3 separate regions of the Homo sapiens genome follow, and regions 2 and 3 are each linked to region 1. The links are contacts of gene promoters, found by promoter capture Hi-C in human tissues and cell types (Jung and others, 2019). All regions are on one chromosome and are shown on one strand. The core of a region is centred on a gene start or on the middle of the fragment in contact, and the rest is flanking DNA. Distances in the headings are between cores, read along the strand shown. Region 1 holds the start of OGDHL (oxoglutarate dehydrogenase L). Region 2 has its middle 50 kb from the start of OGDHL. Region 3 has its middle 38 kb from the start of OGDHL.

What was found. Contacts are between HindIII fragments. The study calls those that stand out against the background at their distance.
Region 2: a fragment that was not itself captured here is called in contact with the fragment with the promoter of OGDHL in region 1 in 3 of the 25 tissues and cell types used here (H1 embryonic stem cells, liver and stomach).
Region 3: a fragment that was not itself captured here is called in contact with the fragment with the promoter of OGDHL in region 1 in 2 of the 25 tissues and cell types used here (spleen and stomach).

Annotation. Positions count from the first base shown.
Region 1 is chr10:49,759,695-49,764,651 of GRCh38, reverse strand. OGDHL (oxoglutarate dehydrogenase L) reads left to right here and starts at 2,329. Exons shown (of 23, transcript NM_018245.3): 1 at 2,329-2,413. RefSeq lists a silencer at 2,369-2,578. The HindIII fragment of the contact is 26,824 bases long and covers 1-4,957 here.
Region 2 is chr10:49,809,881-49,814,837 of GRCh38, reverse strand. No RefSeq gene overlaps it. Among named protein-coding and RNA genes, the nearest start is that of OGDHL, 50 kb to the right of the region's middle. The HindIII fragment of the contact is 3,861 bases long and covers 837-4,697 here.
Region 3 is chr10:49,721,728-49,726,684 of GRCh38, reverse strand. No RefSeq gene overlaps it. Among named protein-coding and RNA genes, the nearest start is that of OGDHL, 38 kb to the left of the region's middle. The HindIII fragment of the contact is 5,697 bases long and covers 1-4,957 here.

The DNA.
Region 1 (4,957 bases), core at 1,080-3,579:
GTAAATGTCAAAAGAAATGGAAATGTTCATTCAATGGGAGAGAAGTGACATACAGTCACCATACATCCCTATAATGAATACAACATACCCATGAAAAAGAATGAGGTGGTCCTACACATACTGAGTTTAAATAAAAATCTTCAAGACAAGGGAAAAAAAGAAACAAGTCGTGGAACTATATTCTAGTGTGATCCATTTCATATTTTTATGTATATGTTTGTAGAAGCATATGGATATAAATACATAAACAATTTTGTAAAAATGTTTGCCAAACTGGCCAGTAGTTATCTCTGGAAGGAAAAAAAAGAGGTGAGGTTGGGGCAGGTGGAAGGGGGCTTTTCACATTTTGTTCTGTATCCTTCTGTATCATTTAAGTTCTGTACAACTAGAATAAATAAAAACTTCCATGTTCTGACACACACACACACACACACACACACACACACACACACACGCCACAGGCATGGGAAAAAAAGAAAGGTGTCTGTTTCTGAAGATCTCTGCAAAGCCTACAGCCACTGCCACTAATCCTCTCAGGCTTCTGAGAATGGCAGCCACCCTCATGGGAGCGTTGATTGCCCCAAATGTTTGCTTTAATCAATGCAATTAGCAGAACACCAATTAGGCTGGAAGGCTGAAAGGCTCTGAAGCCTTTTGATTTGCAAGAGCCTTGTTCCTGCCTGCTGCTCTGTGTCAGGCTTTCCATCTTTCTTAATCGGTGACTCTGACTTGTAAACTTTTCCACTATTACCCCAAACTGCAGCTTCTCCTTTTCCCTAGCTCACTGAGAAGTTCCACTGTGCCCAAGTCACTAAAGCCAGACACCTGTGAGTTATCTATGTCTCCACCCTCATATCTGGTCAACCACTAAACCCCGTGGAGCTGATCCCCGTAAGTCTCTCAAATCTGGCCACCTTACTCCGTCTCTACTGCAAGTACATTACTGCCTCTCACCCGGAATTTGAATTTTGAAAAACAGAAGAGCCTTGAAGAGACAGTTCCTCTATGGCTCAGCCCTGCTTCCTGAAGTAAATTTTCAGCTTTCCTCTGATTCTGTGAGTTGCCTTATATACAACCTTCATATCAACTCGTTTTCGGCTGAAGCTAGCCAGGTCATTTTTGGTGCTTGTGTCCAAAGAATTCCCAATGAACCCTGCCCTTCTGCACCAGATAAAATCTTACTCATCCTTCAGGATCCAAGTCAAGTGTCCATTTACTCACTCAGTCATTCATTCAACAAATATTTACTGAAAAATACCATGATAGTGCTGTGTTAAGTGCTGAAGATTCTTGACCACATGTATCCCTAACTGTCTCCAAATAAAGAACTTTTGGGAGACTTCAGGTGCAGAAGTTAGTTGTATTCCTTTCTTCGTGGCACTCTGTCAGCAGTGATCTGGGTAATTGATTAATTACCTCATATCCACATTCCCCATCCTCCTCCCTCGACAAGCAACCATATTAATTGGTTTGATATGTACTTGAATATATTCTTGTGAAGTGCATACTGTAGTTTTGAGATTAAAATTCAAGAGTGTAAGTGTAGAAGCAGAGAAGCCAGTTAGGAGGCTGCTGCGATAATCCAGGAGAGATTTGATGGCAACTTGAACCACAGGTATGTTATGTTCCTATACAAGAAATCCCTGCATTTAAATGAGAACAAAACCCAACAGAAAGCTGAAAAAAATACAACAGAAAACCCCAAACTAACAAACAACGGGAGATGCAAATGGTTGATAACCAGAGAAATGCAGATTAAAACAATAACAGGACATTGCATCTGCTATTCTGATAATAATTAGAAAGTTGATCTCTATCCCAGAGAAAGTTCCACGCAGGATCCTAAGGGAATGTGTATGAAGAAGTTCATTGCAGCCTTGTTTGTGGCCACGGGGTGGTGAGGACAGCCTGGGTCACCATCAGTGGGAGGATGAATGGGTAAAATGTGTATCAGATTTGGGGTAAGCACTTTTCACGCATTATCTCATCTTTTTTTCAAAACATCCCTAAGATAGTGGAACTTTTCATAGCATTCCCATTTTACAGACGACAAAACAAAACCTATCCTCTCCTACACACAAAGGCTGCTTGTCGTCTGGTACATTCGTCCTAGTTTTAGGACGAGCACACGGGGTTCAGGGCCTCAGCCCCGTTCTGCGGTCTCAGAGAGGAGTCCCCCCTTCGGCCGTGGGCGACCTCGGGCCTGGGCCGCCAGCACCGTGGACAGCGCCAGGAGCGGGGCGGGGCATCCATGGAGACGTCACGACGCGCGGAGTCTCAGGGGCGCGCGCCCGTGGGCGGCTGCGTCACGTGACCCAGGTAATTGGCACGGCGCGCGCGCACCCCTTCCGCGCAGCCCCCTGACCTGCAGCCTCCGGACCTCGCTGCAGCGCGGACCCGGCCCGCCCGCCCGGTGAGCGCGGCGGCCCGCCCCCTCCCGGTCCCTGCGCCGCTGCTTCTCCTGCCGTCCTGGGGACCGGCCCCACAGCTCCTCTCTCCTGGGTCCTGGGGCGCCGCTGCCCGCAGCCCTGAGTCTGGCCCCGCCGGGGGGAGGGGGAGGAGGAACAGACTGTGACCTTGGCTCTGACCTTGGCTGGCCGTGGCCTCCCCCGGGACCCCCAGCCCATCGCGCGCGTACCACCCGGCTAGTCCAGGGTCCTGCGCAGAGGAGCGGGTGCTCGCGGTGGGTTTCTCCAGCCCGAGGACTTCAGACTGCCCCGCGCCTTCCGTGGCCAGGGGAGGGCCCGGAGCTGCGAGGGCTGTGCGGGGGATGGGGAGGGTCAGCGCTGTGCACCTGGCGGGACCCATAGGCAGCTTCGGACTACCAAGGAGCCTAATAGACGGTTTTAACCGCGGTCTCCGATTACAGATGAGAAAACTGAGGCCTGAGAGAGGGCGGCATGGCCTGAGGTCGCTGCTTGCATGGGATGCGCTTCTTCCGCCCCCCGGGAGATGTGGGAGGGGGACGGGGTAATCCCGAGGCCACAGCAGGCTGCAGTACGCATTCGCCGAACCGGAGAGACCCTTTGACGCCCCTCGGCCACCTGGCTCAAGCAGGCCCTAGCAGCCCCTCCCCAGTGTCTTGGAACAGGCCCCAACTAAATAGAATTGCGGTTTGTTGCTGAGCAAAAGCTCATCTGCTTCTCAGAAAGTGGGGTCAGAGTAGACCTGCTGCTGAGAGAATCCAGGCTCTGCTGCTGCCCAGCTTGGAGGGCCCTCTGGGGAGAACCCTTCCCGGCCTCTGTTTACTGATCTCTGCAATGGGTGCATTAGGGAGTAGTCCTCACTAGGGCACCCCAGACAGGGTTGTGTGTGTGGGAGTCTTAGTGGCCATGGTGTCGGCAGTTTTCTGGGGTTGGGTTGAGGTTCTGAGGTTGGGTTGGGGATGCTATGTGACCTTGTCCTCAGAGAAGAGACCCCCAAGAGATACCCAGGGCAACTCTGCTGGAGTCTGGACTGGGCAGGGGGTTGCACAGGGCACCTGACTCTCACTCCTTGTTGCTGTCCTTGACTGTATGGGCAGGAACTAGTAGGGCTGGCTTGGGCTCTGGCTCTAGATACTGAGCCCTCATGCCCTGCTGGGATGCAGGTGGGGGTGGGTGGCAGGCTGCCCTCCTGCCAGGCTGGGTCAAGGTCACAACAGTGCCCAGTGGCCAACCCAGACTGTTTAGTGTTTATAAAACAGTGTTCCTGCACCGGGCCATTCTGGACACAGCCAGACTTTGTCCCTATCTGGCCCAAACTGCCCCATTCCCCTGTGGGGGTGGGAGTGGCGCTGGCAGAGGGAGCAGCTCTGGCTCAGCTGATGGGAACTGCATCGCTAAGAGAAATCTGGCTTACATATTGACTGCAGTGATCAGGGCACAGTCGCTGGAACCCCACACAGCCCTGTCACTCACCAGATTAGCCAGCTTAGCCTCTTGCACCTCAGTTTCTCTGTTTATAAAGTGGAACTGATATGAGTGCCCACCCCATGGGATGTTGGGAGGATTAAATGAGCACAGTATCTGTCCTAGAATCAGTGCTCCTGACGGTGCCTATTATGTTTATTCCCATGACGATGGTCTTGATATCTAGTTTCCTTTGCCATAGACTGGGGATGATAAAGCGTCCTGGGTTGTGGATTCTTTTTGATGCTCTAGAAGATTCTCCCTGATGCTTCAGGAGCTCCTGGGCCTAGTGGCCAGCTGGGCTGGCACGACCTTCTCTTTGCCCAGGCCTCTAGGATAGTCAGAGGTGGAACAGGAGTTGGGACCCTGGCTGCCTGACCCCAGAGCTCATGCCTGGCACTTGGAGAGGTGCTGCTCCCAGAGGAGCCGGCCCCAAGTGCCCCGCGCTCTAGGGCTTGGCATCACTGGCTCGTGGGCTGGGCCACATGACCCGAAGCCTCAGGGGCTGAGCATTGGGGAGGGAAACTTGGGGGCACTCAGAGGCTCCCAAGCTCACCTCCCTCCTCCCTGCAGTGGAATCTTTTTTGTTTTGAAAATTTTCTCTGTTCAGGCTTGCTGCTGGTTGCCCCAGGAGCCTGTCCTCCCTCCATTGAGGTGACATCACCCCTTTCCTCTGGCTCATGTGAGTTAGAAGGAGGGCTGTGCCCTGCCCTCTGGTGGGGCCTGACCTTTTGTGGAAAGTCCAGCCAGTGAGTTTCTGGTGACATGGTTGAGCTGATGGCAGGGGTGAGGCAGAAGGGTGCAACAGGTGTTGGCTGAGCACACCTGACCAGGAGCGTTGGCTCAGGGCCTGGCCTGGGCAGTACTTGGAAGCCAGTTATACCCCAGAATGCACATTTTCTGGGGCCTGAGCTGTCCAGGGGTAGGGGACTCCTCCCGCCTGGGCGACCCCTTGTGGGGTGGTCCTTGCACCCAGCTTACAAGCTGGGCGGTCTGGGCAGGAGGGCATTAGCTGGTATTCATGGGGAGCTGCTCTATGGCAGTGGCTGTGCTGGAGCAGAGGAAGG
Region 2 (4,957 bases), core at 1,518-4,017, 50 kb before region 1:
AGGTAAGGTTTCGGCTCACACAAACAATTAAAATGTTGATGCCAGTAGACTATGAAAAGCTATACATAATACAATGTAGTAGCTAGAGCAACCACTAGAAAGGCTATGAAAAGAGATATACTCAAAAACCCTACAGATAAGCCAAAATGGAATTAAAAAAAAAAAAAAGTTCAATTAACCCACAGGAAGAAAAAAAGAGAACAACCGGGAAAAAAAAATGTCAGAAAAACCAAAAGCTTATTCTTTGAGAAGATCAATAAAATCAGTAAGTCTGTAACCAGACTAAAAAAAAAAAGTAAAGATATATAATTATTAATATAAAAAATGGCCAGTCTCAGTGGCTCATGCCTGTAATCCCAGCACTTTGGGAGGCCGAGGTGGGCGAATCATGAGGTCAGGAGATTGAGACCATCGTGGCCAACGTGGTGAAACCAAGTCTCTACTAAAAATATAAAAATTAGCTGGGCATAGTGGCACGTGCCTATAGTCCCAGCTACTTGGAAGGCTGAGGCAGGAGAATCACTTCCGGGAGGTGGGGGTTGCAGAGAGCCAAGACTGCACCACTGCACCTCAGCCTGGTGACAGAGTGAGAATTCTTCTCAAAAAAAATAATAATAGTAAATGAAAGAGAGGGCATGACTACATATCCCATGACATTAAAAGTATAATAAAGGAATATTATGAACAACTGTGTTCACAAATTTAATAAGCTAGAAGAAATGGACCAATTCCTTGAAAAACACATCTGCTTTAAATCACATAAGAAGAAATAGAGAATCTATTTTATGGCTACACTATGACTAGACCTATGATTTTTAAAGATAATGAATCAATAATTAATGACCTTGAAACAGCATTTGACCCAGATTTCTGGTGAATCCTACCAAACATTTAAGAAAGAATTTATACCAATTTTCTATGTTATTCAGAAGATAGAAGCAGAGAGAATCCTTCTTAATCTCTGAGGTCAGCATTACCCTAATACTGAAACCAGACAAAGACATTACAGGAAAAGGAAACTACAGGCTAATATTTCCTATGAGCATAGATGTAAAAATCCCATACAGAATATTAACAAATTGAATCCAGAAGTGTATTAAGATAATTATACACGCAACCAAGTGGGATTTATACTAGGTATGTAAGGCTGGTTCAACATTCAAAAGTCAATTAATGTAATCCATTACATCAACAGGTTAAAGAAGAAAAATAATGTGATCATATTAATAGATGTAGAAAAAGCATTTGACAAAATGCAACACACATTCATGATTTAAAAAAAAAAACCCTTTGGCAAACTAGGAATAGAAAGAAAACTTTGAATGTTAGGAAGATATCTTTGGGGGGAAAAAAGAAAGAAAACTTCCTAAACTTTATCACGAACATTTAGAAAAAGCCTACAGGTAACATCATACTTAACGGTGAGAAACGTGAAGCTTTCCTGCTAAGATCAGGAATGAGGCAAGGATATCCCATATCACCACTGTTTTTTAACATCATACTGGAAATCCTAGCTAGTGCAATACAACAATAAAGGGAAATACTTTGTTCACAGATGACATGTAGAATTGACAAATAAGAAACTGATAAACAATTGCAGCAGGGTTGCAGAATACAATGGTTTTTGGGTTTGTTTTGTTTTGTTTGAGATGGAGTTCCACTCTGTCACCCAGGCTGGAGTGCAGTGGCACAATCTCAGTTCATTGCAACTTCCACCTTAGGGGCTCAAGGGATCTTCCCACCTCAGCCTGCCAGGTAGCTGGGACTACAGGCATGCACCACCACACCCGGTTAATTTTTTGTGTTCTTAGTAGAGACAGGGTTTTGCCGTGTTGGCCAGGATGGTGTCGACTCCTGGACTCAAGTGATCCACCTGCCTTGGCCTCCCAAAGTGCGGGGATTACAAGTGTGAGCCACCACGCCTGCCCAGGATATAATATAATGTACAAAAGTCTATTGCTTTTCTATACACCAGCAATTAAGTGGAATTTGAAATTCAAAGCACATTACCATTTACATTACCCCCTGCCAAAATAAAATACTTAGGTGTAAATCTAACAAAATATGTATAAGATGTATATGAAGAAAACTACTTAACTTCAATGAAAGATATCAAAGAACTAAACCATGTTCATGGACAAGAAGACTCAATATTGTCAAGATGTCAGTTTTTTCCTACTTAATCTATAGATTCAACACATTCCCAATTAAAATCTCAGCAAATTATTTCATGGATATTGATGAACTAAGTCTAAACTTTATATGGAGAGACAAAAGACCCAGAATAGCCAACTCAGTATTGAAGGAGAACAAAGTTGGAAGACTTTGGCATGACGTCAAAACTTACTAAACAACTGGGTCTAAAATGATGATAAATAAAGCTACAGTAATTCATACTGGCAAAAATAAATAGACCAATGGAATAGAATAGAGGCCCAGAAATAGACCCACATGAATACAGTCAACTCATTTTTTGACAAAGGAGGAAATGCCATACAATGAAGCAAAGACAGTGTTTTCAACAAATGATGCTGGAACAACTGGATATCTCATGTTAAAAAATAAATGTAGATATAGACCTTACACTCATCACAAAAATTCACTGAAAATTGATCATAGACCTAGATGTACAATGCAAAACTGTAAAATCCCTAGAAGACAACATAGGAGAAAACCCGGTTGACTTTTTAGATGCAACACCAAAGGCACACTACATAAAGGAAATAATTGATAAACTGGACTTCATTAAAATTCAAAACTTCTCTCCAAAAGACACAGTTAAGGGAATGAAAAGACAAGTCATAGGCTGGGAGGAAATATTTGCAAAAGATAGATCTAATAATGAACTGTTCTCCAAAATATACAGAAAGGACTCAAAGCTTAACAATAAGAGAAAGAACACCTAATTAAAAATGAACAAAACGGCCGGGCACGGTGGCTCACGCCTGTAATCCCAGCACTTTGGGAGGCTGAGGTGGGCGGATCATGAGGTCAGGAGATTGAGACCATCCTGGCTAACATGGTGAAACCCCGTCTCTACTAAAAATACAAAAAATTAGCCAGGCATGGTGGCAGGCACCTGTAGTCCCAGCTACTTGGGAGGCTGAGGCAGGAGAATGGCGTGAACCCAGGAGGCGGAGCTTGCAGTGAGCCATGATCGCACCACTGCACTCCAGCTTAGGCGACAGAGCGAGACTCCATCTCCAAAAAAAAAAAAAAAAAAAAAAAAAAAAGAACAAAATACCGAACAGACATCTCACCAAAAATGATACACAAATCACAAGTAAACATATGAAAAGATATTCAACAATAATGTGTTATTAGGAAACTGCAAATTAAAACAACAAGATGCCACTACATACCTATTAGAATGGCCGAAATCAAAAGCACTGACAACACTAAATGCTGGCAAGCATGTGGAGTAACAAGAACTCTCATTTATTGCTGGTAAAAATGCAAAATTTTATAGCCATTTTGGAAAACAGTTTGACACTTTCTTACAAAACTAAACATAATCTTACCATATGATGCAGCACTCATACTCTTTAGTATTTATCCAAATGAATTGAAAACTTCACACAAAAACCTATACATAGATGTTTATAGCAGCTTTGTTAATCATTTCCAAAATTTGGAAGCAACCAACATGTTCTTCAGTAGATGAATGGATAAAGAAACTATGGTATATCCTGGCTGGGCACAGTGGCTCATGCCTATAATCCCAGTACTTTGGAAGGCCAAGGTGGGCAGATCACCTGAGGTCAGGAGTTCAAGACCAGCCTGACCAACATGGAGAAACCCCATCTCTACTAAAAATACAAAATTAGCTGGGCGTGGTGGCGCATTCCTATAATCCCAGCTACTCAGGAGGCTGAGGCAGGAGAATCACTTGAGCCCAGGAGGCGGAGGTTGTGGTGTGCTGAGATCGCGCCACTGCACTCCAGCCTGGGCAACAAGAGCAAAACTCCATCTCAAAAACAAACAAACAAAAAACTATGGTACATCCAAACAATGGAACATTATTCAGTACTAAAAAGAAGCGAGCTATCAAGCCATGAAAAGACACAAAGGAAATTTAAATAGTGATAGAAGCCAATCTGAAAAGGTTACATACTGTATAGTTCAACTATATGACAGAGTGGAAGAGACAAAATTATGAAGATAGTAAAATATCAGTGGTTGCCAGTGCTTGTGGGGAGGGAGAGATGAATAGGTGGAGCACAGAAGATTTTTAGGGCAATGAAGCTGTCCTGTATGATACTACAATGGTGGGGATACATGTCATTATATTTATAAAAACCCATAGAATATACAACACCAAAAGTGAACTCTAATGTAAACTATGAACTTCAGGTGATGACGTGTAAATGTAGGTTCATTGATTGTAAAAAAAAAAAAAAAAAAAAAGTACCAATGCAGCACAGGATATTGATAGGTTGTGTATGTGCAGAAACGAGATGTATGGAAACTGTAATTTCTGCTCACTTTTGCTGTAAACCTGAAACTATAAAATGTGAAGTTTATTAATTTAAAAAGTGGAAGACTGTAAGCCCTAATACAGTAGTAGTTACATGAACTCTAAGGACATTAGATATAAAAGACAGATTGGTAGAGCTTATAAAAACGAATGCAATTATATGAACTATATGGTGTCTAACAAACTTACTTCCAGTATAGTAATATGGGTAGATTCAAAGTGAATGAGTGGAATAAAATGTATACCTTGCAAACATTAATCAAAAGAAAACAGCAGTGCCTGTACAATATGAAGTAAAGCAGACCTTAGAGCAAAAAAAAGTTGTCAGGGAATGAGATATATTACATGATTAAAGGGTCAAGCCACTGAGAAGACAACAATTCTAAATGTTTATGCACAAAATAACAGGGTTGTAAAACATGTGAAGCAAAAGCCAATAGAAATAAAAGATGAAATAGACTCATCTACAATTATAGTTGG
Region 3 (4,957 bases), core at 1,077-3,576, 38 kb after region 1:
TGGCTCTTTTCAAAGAACCTACTTTGGGTCTTATTGATTTTCTCGATTTGTTTCATTTTCTATGTTACTGACTTCTGCCTTCATCTTTATTACTTTCTTCTGCTTATTTTAGGGTTCATTTGCTCTTACTTTGCTTTTCTTCTCATAAGAGTAGTCATATCCCATCAATTTCTCCCTACTTTTAGTTGATCTACAGTGCCTCAAACAGTTGTTCTTTTTACATTTTTGTCCAGATTTTTGTAAATGTTATCAGCAGGAGGGTTAATCTGACACAAATTCCTCTTTCATTACCAGAAGCTGTTCCCTACAACCACCATCTTTGAAGGAAGATTTGGCAATATGTATTAAAAATTTAAATACCTCCATTTCTTGGTTTCTGTCCTAGAGATATTCTTATACATGTGTATACAGAAATGAGTACAAAGATTTTTCATTTCAGCATTATTCAAAATAGTGAATTAATAAGTCCCTAAATGTTCTATAGCAAGGATTGGCAAAATTTTTCTGTAAATAGCTAGATTGTAAGTAATTTAGGCTTTGTAGGCCATATGATTTCTGTAGCAATGTCTTACTCTATTCAGGCTGTTGTAACAAAGACTGTGGTCTGTGTAGCTTATAAACAACAGAAATTTATTTCTCACAGTTCTGGAGGCTGGGAAGTTCAAGATCAAGATGCTGGCAGATTCAATGTCTTATTAGTGCCTGCTTCATGGTTCATAGATAGCTATCTTCTCACTGTGTCCTCACATGGCAGATGGGATGAGGGAGCTCTTTGAGGTCCCTTTATAAGGTCATTAATCTCGTTTATTAAGACTCCACCTTCATGGCCTAATCAGTTCCCAAAAACCCTGCCTTCAAATACCATCACATTGGGAATTAGGTTTCAACATATTTAGGGGACACAAACATTCATTCTATAGCAAGCAATAACTCAACTCTGCTGAAGTAATGTATAGATAATATGTAAATGAATAGATATGTATGTGTTCCAATAAAACTTTTCCTATGGATTCTGAAATTTGAACTTCACATAATTTTCATGTATCACAAAACATTCTTTTTAAAAAATTTTTAACCACTTAAAGATATAAAAATTATCCTCAGATTGCAGGTCATACAAAAATAGGTGGTGGGCCAGATTTGATCTATTGTTCATAGTTTGCCAATCCCTAATCTATAGATTTTATTTAACTTTATACACAAGTAAGTGATTTTTTTCTTAAATTTTAATTTTAAAATAATTATAAATTCACAAGAACTTGCAAACATAGTACAGAGTACCTTTTAGCCAGTCTCCCCGAGTGGGTATATTTTATATAATTACAGTGCAACGGTACAATATGTGTATAGTTTTATACCTTTTTTTTTTTTTTGAGACAGTCTCGCTCTCTGTCACCCAGGCTGGAGTGCAGTGGCATAATCTTGGCTCACTGCAACCTCTGCTCCCGGGTTCAAAACGATTCTCATGCCTCAGCCTCTCCAGTAGCTGGGATTACAGGTGTGCGGCACCATGCCAGGCTAATTTTTTTTTTTTTTTTTGAGACACAGCTTCACTCTGTTGCCCAGCCCGGAGTGCAGTTGGACTATCTCAGCTCACTGCAACCTCTGCCTCCTGGGTTCCAGTGATTCTCGTGCCTCAGCCACCTGAGTAGCTGGGACCACAAACACCTGCCACCACGCCGGGCTGATTTTTGTACTATTAGTAGATATGGGGTTTCGCCATGTTGGCTAGGCAGGTCTTGAACGCCTAACCTCAAGCAATCTGTCCATCTTGGCCTCCCAAAGTGCTGGGATTACAGAGATGACCCACTGCACCGGGCCACATTTTTGTATTTTTTGTAGAGACAGGGTTTCTCCATGTTGGTCAGGCTGGATTTGAACTCCTGGCCTCAAGTGATCTGCCTGACTGAGCCTCCCAAAGTGCTCCCAAAGATTATAGGCATGAGCCACCATGCCCAGCCAATGCCATTTTATTACATATGTAGACTTGTGTAACTATTATCCAGCATCACAAAGATCTCACTCGTACTGCCTATGTATAGTTACAGCCTCTCTGCCACTGTCCCTAACCTCTAGCAACCTTTAATCTCTTTTCCATCTCTAAAATTTTGTCATTTCAAGAATATTATATATGTTGGGTGTGGTGGTGGCATGCACCTGTAATCCCAGCTACTAGGGAGGCTGAAACAGAAGGATCCCTTGATCTCAGGAGTTTGAGGCTGTAGTGAGCTATGATTGTGACACTGCCCTCCAGCCTGGGTGACAGAGCAAGGCTTTGTCTTGGAAAAAAAAAAGTTATATAAATGGAATCACACAGTGTGTTACTGGTTGAGATTGAGCTTTTTTCGTTCAGCAAAATGTTGTGAGGTCCCTCCAAAAAGTACCTGCTTTGTGATCAATATGAAAGCTAGGCAGCGCTAAGTTGAACACTCTGATTGTATTGACATGCTTTTTGGTTTTAAATTGGAGTTGCTGTTAAGTTGTTGCTTAAGGAGCAACTTCTACAAATGTTGTGTCTATGAAGCTTATATTCCCTGAAACAGTATAGAATGTGGATCTGAAACATCCCATGGCATGAATGCTACTTCAGTTTGCTGATCTTCCTCTTAACTGCTGAACTGGATTTCCTTGTGTTGACATCTCTAGCCCAAAGGTCTTGAGGTGCTGGGGAGTGAGCAGTGCTGAGAAGCCAGCAGAAAGGGGGCTCCAGTTGGCAGCATTGTCTTTCTTCCTTCCCTGTGAGCCCCATGCAGCAGCCAGTGGGTCCCTGTCCCTGGTTCCCCAGGGTGAGGCCAGCTGGAGGACCACACCTGCCACTTATGTGGAATCTTCCTCTGTGGAGGGTCGGAGATCTTTGCTTGGCAGAGCTGAGTTCGCCAGGGTCCCTGTCTGCACCATCTCTGTCAGCTAGTCTCAACGCTGGGACCATGGTTGTGGGGGGACAGTGACCACACTTGCTGTCTACTATGGTAATTAAGGTAAAAATGGGAATCAAATGGGGATGTATTTGATTCTGCTATAATGCTTATGGTTCTTTCTAATTCTTAAATAATATTATGAAATATTTAAAATATACAGAAAAGGAGGCTGGGCATGGTGGCTCATGCCTGTAATCCTAGCACTTTGGGAGATGAAGGCAGGTTGATCACCTGAGGTCAGGAGTTTGAGACCAGCCTGGCTAACATGGTGAAACCCTATCTCTATGAAAAACACAAAAATTAGCCGGGCGTGTTGGTGCACACCTGTCGTCCCAGCTATTCCGGAGGCTGAGGCAGGAGAATTGCTTGAACCCAGGAGGTGGAGGTTGCAGTGAGTCAAGTGAGACTCTGTCTCAAAAAAATAAAATATACAGAAAAGTGAAAAGGATATGAGAACAGACATCAGTATATCCATCAACCACTCATCTTGATCAAATTCTGATGTCTTGGTCTACATGCTTTCCATATTTTTACAACAATAAAGCATAACAAATACAGTGGAAGCTCTTTGTTACTTTTTCATCTTGGGTTTTAGCAGTTGTTTATAAATTCTAGAATCTGAGCCTTGACAGTTACATGTGGTACAGGTATCATTTTCCAAACTGTAAGTTATCTTTCTATTTATCCCATCTTTTGTTGAATAAAAGTTTTAGTTTTCTTTTTTCTTTTCTTTTTTTTTTTTGAGATGGAGTTTTGCTCTGTCGCCCAGGCTGGAGTGCAATGGCGCCATCTCTGCTCACTGTAACCACTGCCTCCTGGGTTCAAGCCTGCCCCTGCCTCCCGAGTAGCTGGGACTGCAGGCACAGGCCACCACGTCCAACTCATTTTTGTGTTTTTAGTAGAGACAAGGTTTCTCCATGTTGGCCAGGCTGGTCTCGAACTCCTGACCTCGTGATCCGCCTACCTCAGCCTCCCAAAGTGCTGGGATTACAGATGTGAGCCACCACGCCCGGCTTAATTTTCTTATAATCCGAATTATCATCTGCTGGTTTGGAAGCAATACATATTAATATTCATTTTAGTATCCATTCTTATTCTTAATAATTCTTTTGTTTGAATGATTTTATTTAAAAATTTGTTATTTAGTATTTCTAACTTCTTTAACAAAGGAACTTGTTGAATAACTCCCATTTTAGTCTTTTTATCTAAAAACAATATTGTTAAACACAGAAATTATATTATTTTAATATGGCTATTTTCCTTTTTTTTTTTTTTTTTGAGACAGACAGGATCATGCACTGGCATGACCTCAGCTCACTGCAGCCTCAACCTCCCTCAGCTCAAGTGATCCTCCCACTTTAGCCTCCCCAGTAGCTGGGACTACAGATGCGAGCCCCCACGTCCTGCTAATTTTTCTGCTTTTTGTACAAAAAGTGCAAGAAGAGATGGGGTTTTGATATGTTGCCCAGGCTTGTCTTTAACTCCTGGGCTCAAGCAATCTTTCTGCCTCGGCCTCCCAAAATGCTGGTATTATAGGTGTGAGCCACTGTGCCCAGCTAACTATTTTTTATTGTTAATTAAATTTAGTGATGTTTTATTCATCCCTGTGCTTAGCATTGTATTTTGAATCCCACAACTTCTCTCTTGGTTTATTTTACTTTGGACTGAAATACAACTTTGTAATTGATCTTTTTTTTTTCTTTTAGAGACAGACTCTCACTCTGTTGCCCAGATTGAAGTGCAGTGGTATGATTATAGCTTATGCAGCCTCGAACTCCTGGACTCAAGTGATCCTCCTGCCTCAGCCTCCAGAGTAGCTGGGACTACAAGGACCTGTTACTACACCCGTCTACCTTTAAAAATTTTTTTTGTAGTGAAGGGGTCTTGCTATGTTGCTGAAGCTGGTCTCGAACTCCTGGCCTCAAACAATCTACCCACCTTGTAATCGTGTTTTTTATTTTCTGATGCTTTTACATCTCTGGACATTGCTAACCCTGGAGGGACTGCCCCTCCCAGGGCCAACCAATTTGTAGAGTTAG